Regions from separate parts of the Homo sapiens genome. Here region 1 is linked to region 2. The links are contacts of gene promoters, found by promoter capture Hi-C in blood cells and fetal thymus (Javierre and others, 2016). All regions are on one chromosome and are shown on one strand. Each heading gives the region's core, a stretch centred on a gene start or on the middle of the fragment in contact. The rest is flanking DNA. Distances are from core to core; before and after follow the strand shown. Region 1 overlaps CSMD2 (CUB and Sushi multiple domains 2). Region 2 holds the start of GJB4 (gap junction protein beta 4).

Region 1 (6,656 bases), core at 2,530-5,029, 1.2 Mb after region 2:
AGAACTTAATTAGATTTATTTAACCTGTCAGGTTGCTAGAATGTCTTGATTAACTCACTAAGATCCCAAAGTAGAAACTTTATTTGGCTTCTTTATGGAACAGAGGGGACAATGTATACTTCTAAGCCCTACGTTTCTGAATTATCATAAGAGTTCTAGAAAACAGCAGTATTGAAGGTCTTGTCTTTTGATTAAGTATTGGGGGTGTTATTTTTAAATGAAAAGTTTATTCTAGCAAAACTATCTTTATGCTGATATTGGACATATGAATCATAAATTTAAACAAGTGTTGACCCTGAACTTTGTTTTCAACAAAATAAAATGAACTCCAGTGGAGCTCTGAAATGACTGATGCCTTTATTTTTGAATGAATAATACACTTTTAAGTTCAGCCCTGTCAAAGACAAGAGACTTGGCTGGACGGGCAATTCCCAAAGCCAGTTCTAGGAGCCTTGGCTGGGTGGGAAATCAGTAGCAGGGACTCATGGCTCTGGCAGGAGCTGCTTTCATGAGGCAGCACACTTGAGGCAGGACTGTGTTGCTTTGGGCACTGTCTGCCTCTGTCTTGCTCCCAGGAGCTCACATCCAGTTCCTGAACTTCTCCACCGAGCCCAACCACGACTACATAGAAATCCGGAATGGCCCCTATGAGACCAGCCGCATGATGGGAAGATTCAGTGGAAGCGAGCTTCCAAGCTCCCTCCTCTCCACGTCCCACGAGACCACCGTGTATTTCCACAGCGACCACTCCCAGAATCGGCCAGGATTCAAGCTGGAGTATCAGGGTAAGGACAAGGAGCACCGCCTTTGCTTCTCTGTCTATCTCCATCTCTTGCCCCAGCCACCCACCTTCCCAGCCTTCCATGTGGGGGAAAACAGAACACCATAAGGGGTGGGTTGCGGTGGCAGGCCCAGTCAGGGAAGCTTCCTTTTGGTGGCAGATCTCTCCGGACCCCATTTGTCAGCTTAAGTTCTCCCACAGCCTTTTCAAGAGTGGCAGGCCCAACAGCACCCTCTGAGGCTCCCACTCTGTACAGCTGTCCCTGGGCAAGTGGCCCATCTGTGCCTTCTCAGGTGTCCCAAACTGTCCAGCCAGTCACTTCCCCTCGGGCTTGATAAACTGAATTACTTCCCCAGGGTCCTTCCCTGCACATCAAGCCCAATTACTCTCAGCAAAGCTCTTCCTATGACAGGATGGAGGATTCTAGTAACAGTCCCAAGGGCACCTCTAAGCCTTGCACAAGGAGCAGGTTTTCCTGTGAGGCCCAACCACACTCACCACAGCTCCACCTCTCTGAAGTGGGATCCCGTGACCGGCCCCACTCATTCTGGGACATTCCCTGGAAAGAGCCCCATCTACACTCAGGTTCCCCTGTGTTGTAGACCATCCATCACCTGTGGATGTGGAGATTGTGCCCAACCTGTGCAGCTGTACATGGTCCTGAGTAAGCCCAACCTCGCCCTTGGATGCTTCCCTTATTGTGACTGACCGAAGCATTTGTTCTAATCCCTTTCCCAGATTCTTCCACTGAATTTTTAAAAATATTTTTAGATTTTTTTTCCAATACTAATTCATGTTTGTAAAAAAAAAAAAAAAAATCTAAACACTGTAGATAATTTTGTGAGCACATTGTGTTAGCTCAGGCTGCTGTAACAAAATACCATAAGCCAAGTGCCTTACAAACAGCAGAAATTTATTTCTCACAGTTCTGAGGGCTAGGAAGTCCAAGATCACAGTGCCAGCAGATTCCGTGTCTGGTGAAGACCCACTTTCTAGTTCATAGACAGTATCTTCTCACTGCGTCCTCACATGGTGGAAGGGGCAAAAGAGCTCTCTCAGGCCTCTTTTATAAGGGAACTAATCCCATTTAGGAGGGTGGGCCACCAAATGCCCTGCCTCCAAATACCCTCACATGAGGGATTAGGTTTCAACATAGGGATTTGATGGGACAGAAATATTCAGGCCCTAACACCCGTCACAGGAAGTCAAAATCCTCCCATAATCCCATCCTGTCACTACCCTATGCAGAGATACACACTTTCAACAATTCAATATGTATTCCCCGCTTTTCTCGGTATATATATTGCTGTAGCTATATTTTTAGCCAAAATTGGATCGTACTATAGTTTTCCAATTTTGTTTTTTAAAGTTAATTTTTAATTACACAAACAATTTACAAACATATTTATCTTTTAAAAAAAGAAAAATACAAGAAAGAAATTAAAACCTTACAAGTAAGGCCAAAGCTCTCTTTGTCTATAGCCTCCAAACCCAGGATTATTCTCCAGAAACGGCTACTATTGTTTAGTTGTGACCTTTCCAGGCCTGGATATATGTATGCTACATGTACCTGTGAAAAATATGTAACATTTTATAAAATTTTTTGACCACGTTTTCTATATAAATAGTACCATCCTATATGCAGCTTTCTGAGAGTTGACTTCTTTATTCTGGAAATAATATGGTGGGGATGGAGCTCCTCCCTTGCCAGAGAAGAATACTGAGGGGGTACTGGGCTTCTCATTTAGGGAAAGCCTTAAAGGGCATCCCACGAGGTGGGTGCAACTGAATCAGTTCTGCAGGAGACTTCAGGGTTCCGGGGTCCATCTCAGGGAAAGCTTTGGTAAGTGCGGCTGGGCTTGTCATCTAGAGGGAGCCTCAGGAGAAGCTGGGCCTTGCACCCAGACAGAGCCACTTCACTGGTGTTAGCACAGCTGCCACACCCAGGGAAGGTGTGTGCAGGCTCATCACAGAGGCCAGCCTTGCCCAAGGATGTCTGTGCCTATTATCTGGGAGGTGTGTACCTGTCAAACAGGTCATGACGCGTCGGATGGCCGTGATGTCACAGGAGGGACTTGGTCCCAAATATGTCCTCTCAGAGACAGATGCAACGCCTTCCCCCAAGGCTTTCCTGTGTCTTAGTTTGTTAGGGCTGCCATAAGAAAGTACCACAAACTGGGTGGCTTAAACAACGGAAACTTACTGTCCAATGGCTCTGGGGCTGGATGGTCAAGATCAAGGTGTCAGCAGAGTTGGTTCCTTCTGAGGCCCATGAGGGAGACTCTGTCCGGGCCCCTCCCCTGGCTTCTGGTAGTTCATGACAATCTTGGCATTCTCAGCTCTTAGAAGTATCACCCCGACCTCTGGCTTCATCTTCACATGGTGCTCTTCATGTGCCTCTGTCTCCAAATTCCCACCTTCTATAAAGACACCAGTCATATTGGATCAGAGCCCACCCTAGTGACCTCATTTTAATTTCCATAAGTTTGGTAAAGATCCTGTCTATTTCCCATAAGGTCATATTCACAAGGAGTGAAGTCTTCAGCATATGAATTTTGGGAGACATATTTCAGCCCCTTGCACCCCTCCCAGGCCCAAGTGCTCTCTCCCTGAGACCTTCCTTCTCGGATAAATATAAGGAATGGCAGTGCCACCATTGTGCCAGGGACAGCTGCCCTGGGCCCACCCCGTGCACTGTGCCTTCACCCTAGACAATGGGCACGGTCCTGCCACTGAATCCCTGTGATGGGACCAGCCACTCGCTGTGCTCCCCGTGTGATGAGCCCACTTGTCCTTGTAAAGGTTGTGCCTGTGTGACCGCCTCAGATTCTCCATTGACTCCCTCGACAGAAGAGGCCTAACTACCCCCACAGAGCCCTGGCCTTGGGCTCACTCGCCCCTGATTCCCCAGCCCCCATCTTTGGAAATGCTCCCACTATGGCCACCCTGCACAAGGGGCCCCGCTGTCCCCCTGAGGTTTCCTGGACGACAAGCCAACATTCGGGACTAGTGTCCCTCCCTGGGATGGGCCTGTCTCTCCCACTGAGGTTTGCAGCCTCCACAGGCCCAGTCCTCCTCTGATAACTTTCCCTGCGTAGGGAGGCCAGGGGGCAGCGAGTTGCCTTCAGACACCCAGCTCCTCCACCAGGAGTTGGCCCAACATGTGAGAGGCACAGCGACATCCAATGGGGCTTCCACCCTATAATGGGCCCCCTCCTCCCACAAGCATGTGACCTTCAGGACTTGCCTGGATGTTCCCCTTCAGTCCCAGGCACAGCCACTCCCTCAGCGTTCACCTGTCTGCCACAGTCCCAAGGACTCCTGTGGAGCCACACATGGTGCCGGGGCACCTGCTCCCCTCAGACTTGGGCTCCACCCCTATTAAGGCTTCTCGTTTGGGGCGATCCCAACCTCTTGGGCTAGGTTGCCTCTAGGGCCAGAGGCCTAAGTATTCCCACAGAGGCCTCATCATTTGTGATAGGCCCAAATAACTCTCCCTGACCATAAGCCCACACTCTCTGTTTACACCTTCCTCCGCCGTACGGAGCGGCACCTCGTAAGCAAGCTCTGACCACTCTCCCCAGGTTTTTCCTCTGGGGAAAAACCCAGCTTCAATGAACGAGCCATTTGTCCCCACTGAGGCTGTTTCTGTCAGACCCAGCTCTCTATGGCCCCTCGACTTTCCTTAGAAGTCCAACTCTTTACTCTTTCTCAAAATTCCTCCAACTGATACTCTGCACTTCCCATGCTAGGGTCTTCTTTTCTCTTCTTTAAGTAAAGATTCCCATCAAGTTCTTAGTAGCAGCATAAGCAACTCCTAGCCAGGCCTCCCGGTCCGACATGCTTAATGTGTTCCATGACAATTTCTCAGGAGGGTTCTGTTTATAAAGAACTTAGCAAAATGGCTAAGATGTACAATTGTCCCCAAATGCTAGGCATCATCATTATTAATGTTTTAAAATAATGGCATTTTGCTTGAAATTGTATCTACCTGATTATGGCACTTTGTTTGGAAGTGTGTTCCCACTGTCACCAGGTGTGTCCCTTTAGAACAAACCCACTTGCTTTCCTGAGGAGTCCTTCTTTGGGGAAGTTCATCCTTCCTCCTCTTAGGGTTTATTTCTGCCTTATATGGCCAACCTCTCCCTTTGAAGCTTCTTGCAGGGGAACAGGCTCTGAGGTTTCTCTCAGTGTTGAGGTACTCTCACTGAAGTTTCTGTCTTTTTGAAGAGCCTAGATCCTTCCACTGGAGATGATTCCTGTAGGAGAGGCCCAGCTGCTCTCATCAAGGCTGCTCCTGGCTTCCCACACACAGCCACTCCCTTCCTTCTCTCCCCGTCTCTGAGTCCACGTGGCTACCCTGAGCCTTTCTGTAAAGACCCAACCCATCCCATTGGGTTGCCTCCCTGGGCAAAAGGCCCCCTGCTTCCGCTGAGACTTTCGTTGCCAAACGGCCCAAACCCCCGTGCTGCAGGGCCAGGCCTGTCCTGGGGCTAAGCAGCCACCCCACCCATGTGGTTGCTCAGTTTTTGGCACACCCAATTACCTCAATGATTTCCCAGGGAAACCTGCCCAGTTCCTCCCCCTGAGACTTCCCTGTGAGGTACTGAATGGAAACATAACACAGCCACGTGAGTGCTCAGGAAATGTTATCTTCAAGATCCGCGTTATTGATGTTGTTATTACGTATGAGAAACACATGTACTTCTAAGAAGCATCTATCCAGTCCCAACTACTTCCACTGAGGATTCCCACTGTAGGAACGTTCTGTCTCCTCCCGCTGCCAATTTCCTGAGTGGAGTGGGCGCAATTACTGCCACGAAGGCTGTTCTGTGTCCTGTGGACCCAATTCATCAAAGGCCTTGCTCAGGAATCCCTCAGCAGCCTCTCCCCAATGGACTGGCCTCAGCTGCTTCCATGGAGGCATCTCCTGTGGAGTCAGGCCACCCACTCTCATGGAAACAGCTTCCCTGCCCTTTGGAGGGACTTGCTTTGTGACAGCCACACGTCCCTTAGCCCAGCTACTCCCTCTGAAAAGCTTCTCTCCTTGCCACAGATTTGACTTACTCCCACCAGATTTCTTCCTTCCTGAGAGGTTTTGATCTCTCGGAGTTGGAAAGAACCAACTCAACTCCTCCCGTCGCCGCTTCCTATGTCTGGGATCTTGATCCTGGTTGTGAAGGTTCAATGAGATAAGCAACATGAAAGGAGTTAGGCTGGTGCCTGGCCCCCAGTGGCACTCAGTGAATAGAGGTTCAATTGAGCAATGTCTTCCTTGAGCCTCCTTTTCCTACGGAATTACTAATAATAGATACTATTTACTGAGCTTTCACCATGTGCCAGTACTGTGGAAAGAGCTATGTATGTGTTATCCTACTTAGTCCTCAAAATAATCATTCTATACACAGGAAAACTGAGGCGTACACAAGTTAAATTACTTACCCAAAGCCAATGACTTGTACATGACAAAGGTCCATCTGAGTCCAAATCTTGAGGCTTCACCACTATGCTTTCTGCCGCTCCTATTTTCTGGTCAGAGAGAATAAAGTGACCTTTTCTCCGGATCTTTTCCAGCCTATGAACTTCAAGAGTGCCCAGACCCAGAGCCCTTTGCCAATGGCATTGTGAGGGGAGCTGGCTACAACGTGGGACAATCAGTGACCTTCGAGTGCCTCCCGGGGTATCAATTGACTGGCCACCCTGTCCTCACGTGTCAACATGGCACCAACCGGAACTGGGACCACCCCCTGCCCAAGTGTGAAGGTATGTCGCTCCCTCATCCCCAGCAGTTCTTCCTGGGGTACTCGTGGAGACTGGTCCAGAGCAATCCCATGTTCCACCTACCTGCTCTGTGGGATCTCCAGGGCTGGAGGTC
Region 2 (6,341 bases), core at 729-3,228:
CCTTGTAGAGGCGGTGGAAGATATAGAGGAAGCCAGCATCCACGGCGGCCTTGAAGATGAGGCTCAGCAAGTACGTCCACCACAGTCCGCCCCGCTTCTTGCTCAGGTTGTCGTACAGGGACGGGGCATTGGGCCCGTGTTTCAGGTGGTGCTTGCGCTCGCGTTCCTCGCGGTAGGCCACGTGCATGACCACGAGCAGTGAGGGGCACGTGACCAGGATGAGCTGTAGGGCCCAGAGGCGCACGTGGGACACGGGGAAGAACTCGTCATAGCAGACGTTGGGGCAGCCGGGCTGCTTGGTGTTGCAGACAAAGTCCTTCTGCTCATCGTCCCACACCTCCTCCGCTGCCACCACGTACACCAGCACACGAAAGATGAACACCACAGACAGCCAGATGCGGCTCAGCACTGTGGAGTACTTGTTCACGCCACTCAGCAGGCCCTGCAGAAATGCCCAGTTCATGCTGGCTGTGTCCTGGGTGCTGCACGTGGAAGGTCTATACCTGGGTGCTACCTGCCCACTCAGGCCTTGGGAGCCTTGAGGCCTGGGGGAACCTGGAGATGGGCACCCTTAATGCTGGTGCGATTGACAAAATCTTTTCACAATCACCGTGTCATCATGTCTTCACTCCCAATGACTTGGTAGGGTAGGGATTGCCCCTGTCCTCATTTCACAAAGAGTAAGTGAAGGCCCAGAGATACCTGCCCAATGGTCCACAGATGGAAGTAGCAGAGCTAATCTTGCACTTTGGTCTTCAGGTTCCAAAATCAGGGTCTACCTTATTCTACAAGGTAATAGATACATGTGAAGACAATCATCCTGCATGGATATGCCAGCCAACCTCTATTACCCCAAGTTTCAGCCCATGTCTTCTAAAGAGACCGTAGGAAGGCTTGAATTGGACGATCTGCTCTCCCATCAGCTGCCAGGGCTGGGCCAGGGCAGGAGGGGTGGGAACGTATCCTTATCAGTTGTCAGATCCATCCCACTTTTACTGAACACCAACAAGAGCCTGGCCCCGTGTTGGGGACGTTCACATCAGCCCCTTGGTAAATCCCAGAACAATCTGCATCCTTACTCCTTGCCTCTGGCTCCAGGAAGGTTCTCAGCCCTGGCATTCCCTCCCAAACTAAACAGAGGTGCTTTGGAATCACGGGGACTTGATATCATCCCTGCCAACCCGTGTACTGGTGCTGGGGCCTGAGGGCTGACTGTCTTGACCACAGTGGGTTCCTCTGGAATTCCAACCATTCCAGCTTTAGGAAGGACTGAGGATGGATTCTGGCATGGTCTGGACCCCCCATTTACTTTCTCTGGGGGCACCCCCTCCTCTGTCCATTTAGTGGCTGTTTGCTAGCCGCATTTCCATTATTTCCTCTCAGGCCCCTCTCCTGTGGACTCTGACCTCCACACCCCCTTGTCTGGAGTCCCCATCAGGCCCCATGTCCAACCCTCCCCTCCTCCTACCCTCCTCCTTCCCCATCCCCAATCCCTGACTCTGCTCTCAGCCTCTTCAGACATCGTGTGCCTGGGACACTTTCAGAGCAAGAGGCATCGCCTGTACCCAAATGGTCTATTTACCTGTCTTATTTTTTTGCCAGGCTGTCAGCTGCTAGAGGGCAGGCTCTTCACCTCTGTCTCCCTAGCACCTAGCACTGGCCTGGCCCAGTGAACACACAATAGATGTTTGTTAAACTGAACTGAAACCCATTTCTTCCTGATACCCCCTCTTCCCCAATCTTCTGTCGTCCCTTAGGTCAGCCAGGACATTCCTTCTCCTCCTTGGCACTTCCCTGGGGATCCTCTAGGGACACTGACCCTCTGGCTCCCTCCCTGAAGCCCAGCCCACAGCCTGAGGTCCCTTGGATATCCTCAGCTCAGCTGGTTGCTTGCTTCCTGGCCAGCCTCCTGCCCTATTCGGTCCTCACCCTTCTTGGGTCCAGTAGCTGCTTCCTTGTCCTTGGGCTTGTCTGTTTGCCTCAGGACCTCCCGGAGGCAGCTTTTGTTCCTCTCTCCCTTGCTGGGTGGGGCTTTCTGGGCCAATGAGCCAAGCGAGAGTGATTGGGTGGGCAGGCAGGAGGGCGGACTTCCCCGGGCACATACTCAGAGCAAACACCTGCGGCTCTTCTCTCCTGGCCCACGCCTCCTCTCTAGCCTGGCTGGGTATGGCTGAGCCTGGCTCCCAGGCAGGCAGGTATGTGGGTGAGACTGCTGTGTGGGGTTCAGGAGCCTGATATCATTATGCCTAGGCCTAGGACAGCACCAGTGGGATTGACCCTGTCCCCTTCCCATTGCCTCCTTACCCTGCCTCCTTGCCCTCTCTCCTGCCCTTTTCCTGGGAAGCCTGATACTGAGGTCTCAGCAGCTGACATCTACGGAAAGGGGCAACCTTAATTTAGTGCAGGAACGCATCCCATTCTGGTGGTGGGATATTTCTGGGACTGGAGTCTGGAAGCTCTTGGATTGTGTAGGAAATGGGAGGGGTCAACTATGACTTTTCTAGACCAGGGCACCCATAGCCTTGGTGGAGGCAAGGAATGCAGGTCAGCAGCATGAAATGCCCCAGTTAGCACAGGGCCAGGCACAGCATCGCTGTCCATCCTCTGTGGGTCCTGGGGAAGGCCTCCAGGGAGGCTGGAGTGTGACCTCACATATGCTGGTGGGGGGCCTGGGACCTGTGTTCTGGCTGGGATGATGAAGGTTAATGTGCAGCTAGGGAGGGGCCTTCTGCCTCGTTTCTCACAGGCATTATCAAGCACTTCCTAATACCAATGATTAACATTTATGTGTCCTTTTACAGCTGGCTAGCCCTGTCCACAGCCATGAGCTCATCAGTCCTCAGCACAACCCCACAGGCTAGGTATTATTAACCCATTTTGGAGAGAAGCTTAAGTTACTTTCCCAGAGTCCCGGTGGAACTTGGATTCGACACAGGCATTCTAAGTTCATGAACTTCCCACTGCAACATGGACTAAGCTCCATTCTCTCTGCAGACAACCCACAGGACTAAACTTGCCATGGGGGATAAAGGCTAGATGGGAGCATGAGCAAGTAGCACGTCCCCTGGAGTACTGGGGGCCCCCTTTCTGGAAGAGAGGATGCCCCTCACAGGCTGGATCAAGTGCAGCTCTTCACGGGGGCAGAGAGATTGACACCATGAACGTGTGAGGGTCACGAAGGCCGCACAACCAGAGGGCACCTGGAACCAGCAAATGAGTTGACTTTTATTAAGTTCTGACAGTGGGCCACACACGATGAAGGTGCCCGCATGTGTGTTCTTCTATGAACGCCCTCCTCCCTCCAACCCTGGGCATTGGCCCTCACTATTTCCATTCTAGAAAAGGAAACCGAGCTGCAGAGCAGAGGGGGAACTGGCCCAGTGCCGTCGAGCTGGGGCAGGTGGCTGGAGTTGAGGACTAGGAACTGGCTCCCAGAGCGTCTGAATCCTCTCTCTTGCCTGCCCCTACCTCATGGCTTAGCTCCCCCACTCTCAGGTTGCACCTATGAGAGATGCTAGAGCCTCCCCATCCAGGCCCAACCTGCCAGACCAGTCCAGGCAGCCCCTCACAAGATGGTTTTCTTCACATGGTCTCGGGGGCGGTCTGGTAAGAGAGGAGGATGACTGTCTGAGCCCAGAAAGATGAGGTCACCCGAAAGGAGGTCGTCTTGTTTGCAGGAAGAGGTGGTACCGTGGGGGTGATGACCTGTGCACATGGCTTGAGCTTTCCTTGCTGCCAGGCACTCGTGGCATCTCTTGCTCACCAGGTAGATGAGCTCCACGAGGTTGAGCAGGATGCAGATGGCAGCTGTGGCCACCATGAAGAGGGTGAAAATGTTCTTCTCTGAGGGCTTGGAGATGAAGCAGTCCACTATATTGGGACATGGATCTGCGTGGCACTTGACCACAGGAGGGAGGATATATTTGGGGTAGAATGAGTGGAACACATAGAGAAAGGCGATGTCCACGCTCGCCTTGAACACTAGGCTGCAGACATATGTCCACCAGAGCCCACCCCGCTTCTTGCCGGGGTTCAGGTAGAGGCGCCCACTGTTCTCCCCATGGGCTTCTCGGTGCCTCTTCTCCTGAACCTCCCGGTAGGCCACGTGCATGACCACGAGCAGTGAGGGGCATGTCACCAGGATAAGCTGCAGGGCCCAGAGGCGCACATGGGACACAGGGAAGAACTCATCAAAGCAGACGTTGGAGCAGCCGGGCTGGCGAGTATTGCAGTCGAAGTCCTTGTGGTCATCACTCCACACACGCTCGGCCGTCACCAGGTACACCAGCACGCGGAAGATGAAGACCAGAGACAGCCAGATGCGCCCAAAGGCTGTGGAGTACTTGTTGACCCCACTCAGGAGTCCCTCAAAGATACTCCAGTTCATGGTGGACCCACGCGTCAGCTGCTACTGCAGGGAAACAAGAACAATCATTTCCTACATTTATCACAGACTTGCTCTGAGCACTTTGTAGAAATATGTCATCACATTTCATCCTTACCATCACTAGAGGAGCTGGGTTCTACTACTGTCCCCATTTTGTAGAGGGAGGGAGCTGAGGTTTAGTGGCATTATATACAAGGTTACACAACTATTAGGTGCAGGGCTGGGATTTGAGCATAGGTAATTAAGTCCAGAACCCAGCTCTTACCAATACCAGTGGATAAGGGCAGGTCCAGGGAGCCACTCATTCCTCCCCGGGCCTGAGGCTCTGGTCTTGAGGTTCTGCAGAGTGAAGACTGGTGGAGCTGGGACATTCTGCCTGCTCCCTCTGTTTCAACCCTGGCCCTCCTCCTCAGGGGGGCTGAGCCTTGAGATGGTTCTCTCCTTTCTGAGCACTGCTGCCTCTTCTCAGACAGCCCCTTCCCCAGGGGAACCTGCTCTTTGTCCTTTTCTTGGCTCAGGGATGGGACTGGAAAGGAGGCTGGAACCTTGTCCCCAAGCCCCCATCTGGTCTAACACTCTGTAATTAGCCAGGCAGAGTCCTGCTCAAGTGCCACTCAATGCAATCCAGCTGAAAGCTAAAGCAGGCAGCAATAAATTCTCTTCATACAGTAGGTTTCCTAGAGTAACCTGGTATTCCAGTGTTTCCCAAACAGTGTTCCCTGGAACCCTGTCCCATAGGTTGGCAATAGGAGAAGTGAGAGAAGAGGATTCTGTGTCAAGAAAAGTTGGCAAACATTGGGTTTAGTAAAGTTAAATAGGGTTCTTTTGCTCAACCGTGCTAATAAACTCACTAATAAATTCACCAAAAGAGGTATGAAATATGTGGCATTGCCCAAACTCATTTGCCCACAGAAGCCCTTTTCCTCCTGACATAACATTTATCATCTTGTGGAACAGCCTTGTCAAGACATCAAGTGGGAAATGCTGCTCCTGTCAGTTCTGCTGGTGAATTTGGCCTGATGAACTCACAGAATCAGATTCACCTCCGCGTAAGGACTGTGACTGCTAGGCAGAGTAAGGGGTCCCCACTTCCTCACCCGCGAGTCCTCTGCCTGATTCCTGGAGATGGGGGTGTGTCCATTAAGACCCATGCACTGTGGTTTCAACCAACTGTGCACCCTGGGACCCCAAGGAACCTGTCTGCCTAGCCACTAAAGGGCTCATGATGGCCTTCCCATGCTGGTCCAGGCTGAAGCTCACCAGGCTCTCTGGAGCCTCTGCATGATCAACTGCAAAGCAGAGTAGTGATAACAGCCAATATCCATGAAGCATTCATGCCGTGCCAGGCACCGCTCTAAGTTCTTTGTATGAATCAGTACATTATTCCTTCACAGCAACCTTAGGAAAGGGCATATTTTTTATTCCCAATTTACAGATGAGGAAAGAGGAACACAGAGGGATTAATTAACTTGCTCAACGTCACACAGCTAATAAGTGGCAGAGCTAGGATTTGAACCCAGGCAGGCTGGCTCTAGAGCCCACCCTCCGGGAACTGCCCAGCCTTAGGCCTCAGACCCTTTCCTCAAGTTTCAATGAGCTGCCTGCCTGTTTGTGTGCAGACGGATTCTGTCCTTCCCCTTGTGTGTGGATCCTGGATGAGGGTGGCTGGGGGAACCTTTGCCCACCACCCTGTCTCCACACCACCTGCGCCACTTGGACGGGGGATGGGTGGAGGTGGGGGCCGGGGTTGGGGGGAGCTCTGTTTTGAATCACCATCTTGCATGCTCAGTCCTGTCTAAGGTAGGACTCCTGCAGCTTCTCAGGGAACACCCAGGAAGGCCCCGCCCTTAGCCCCAGGGGCTCTCACCCAGCCCATCCCTACTTGGGGAGGAGTGGGGCAGGGCTTTGCAGGCCCAGGCAGAGCTACCCTGCCTGCTGAGCTTCCGGCCTGGCC

The links. The method cuts DNA at HindIII sites, captures the fragments that hold promoters and counts their contacts. A CHiCAGO score of 5 or more calls a contact.
Region 1: a fragment that was not itself captured here is called in contact with the fragment with the promoter of GJB4 in region 2 in 1 of 17 cell types (endothelial precursors); the score reaches 5.0 in endothelial precursors.

Annotation. Positions count from the first base shown.
Region 1 is chr1:33,605,170-33,611,825 of GRCh38, reverse strand. It overlaps CSMD2 (CUB and Sushi multiple domains 2), which reads left to right. Exons shown (of 71, transcript NM_001281956.2): 41 at 576-785; 42 at 6,356-6,544. Among named protein-coding and RNA genes, the nearest start is that of ZSCAN20, 140 kb to the right of the region's middle. RefSeq lists enhancers at 3,363-3,863, 3,864-4,364, 5,642-6,656. The HindIII fragment of the contact is 2,316 bases long and covers 2,622-4,937 here.
Region 2 is chr1:34,755,377-34,761,717 of GRCh38, reverse strand. GJB4 (gap junction protein beta 4) reads right to left here and starts at 1,978. Exons shown (of 2, transcript NM_153212.3): 1 at 1,930-1,978; 2 at 1-785. The coding sequence starts at 463. GJB5 (gap junction protein beta 5) reads right to left here. Exons shown (of 2, transcript NM_005268.4): 2 at 3,206-4,411. The coding sequence starts at 4,387. The coding sequence ends at 3,566. The HindIII fragment of the contact is 14,269 bases long and covers 1-2,890 here.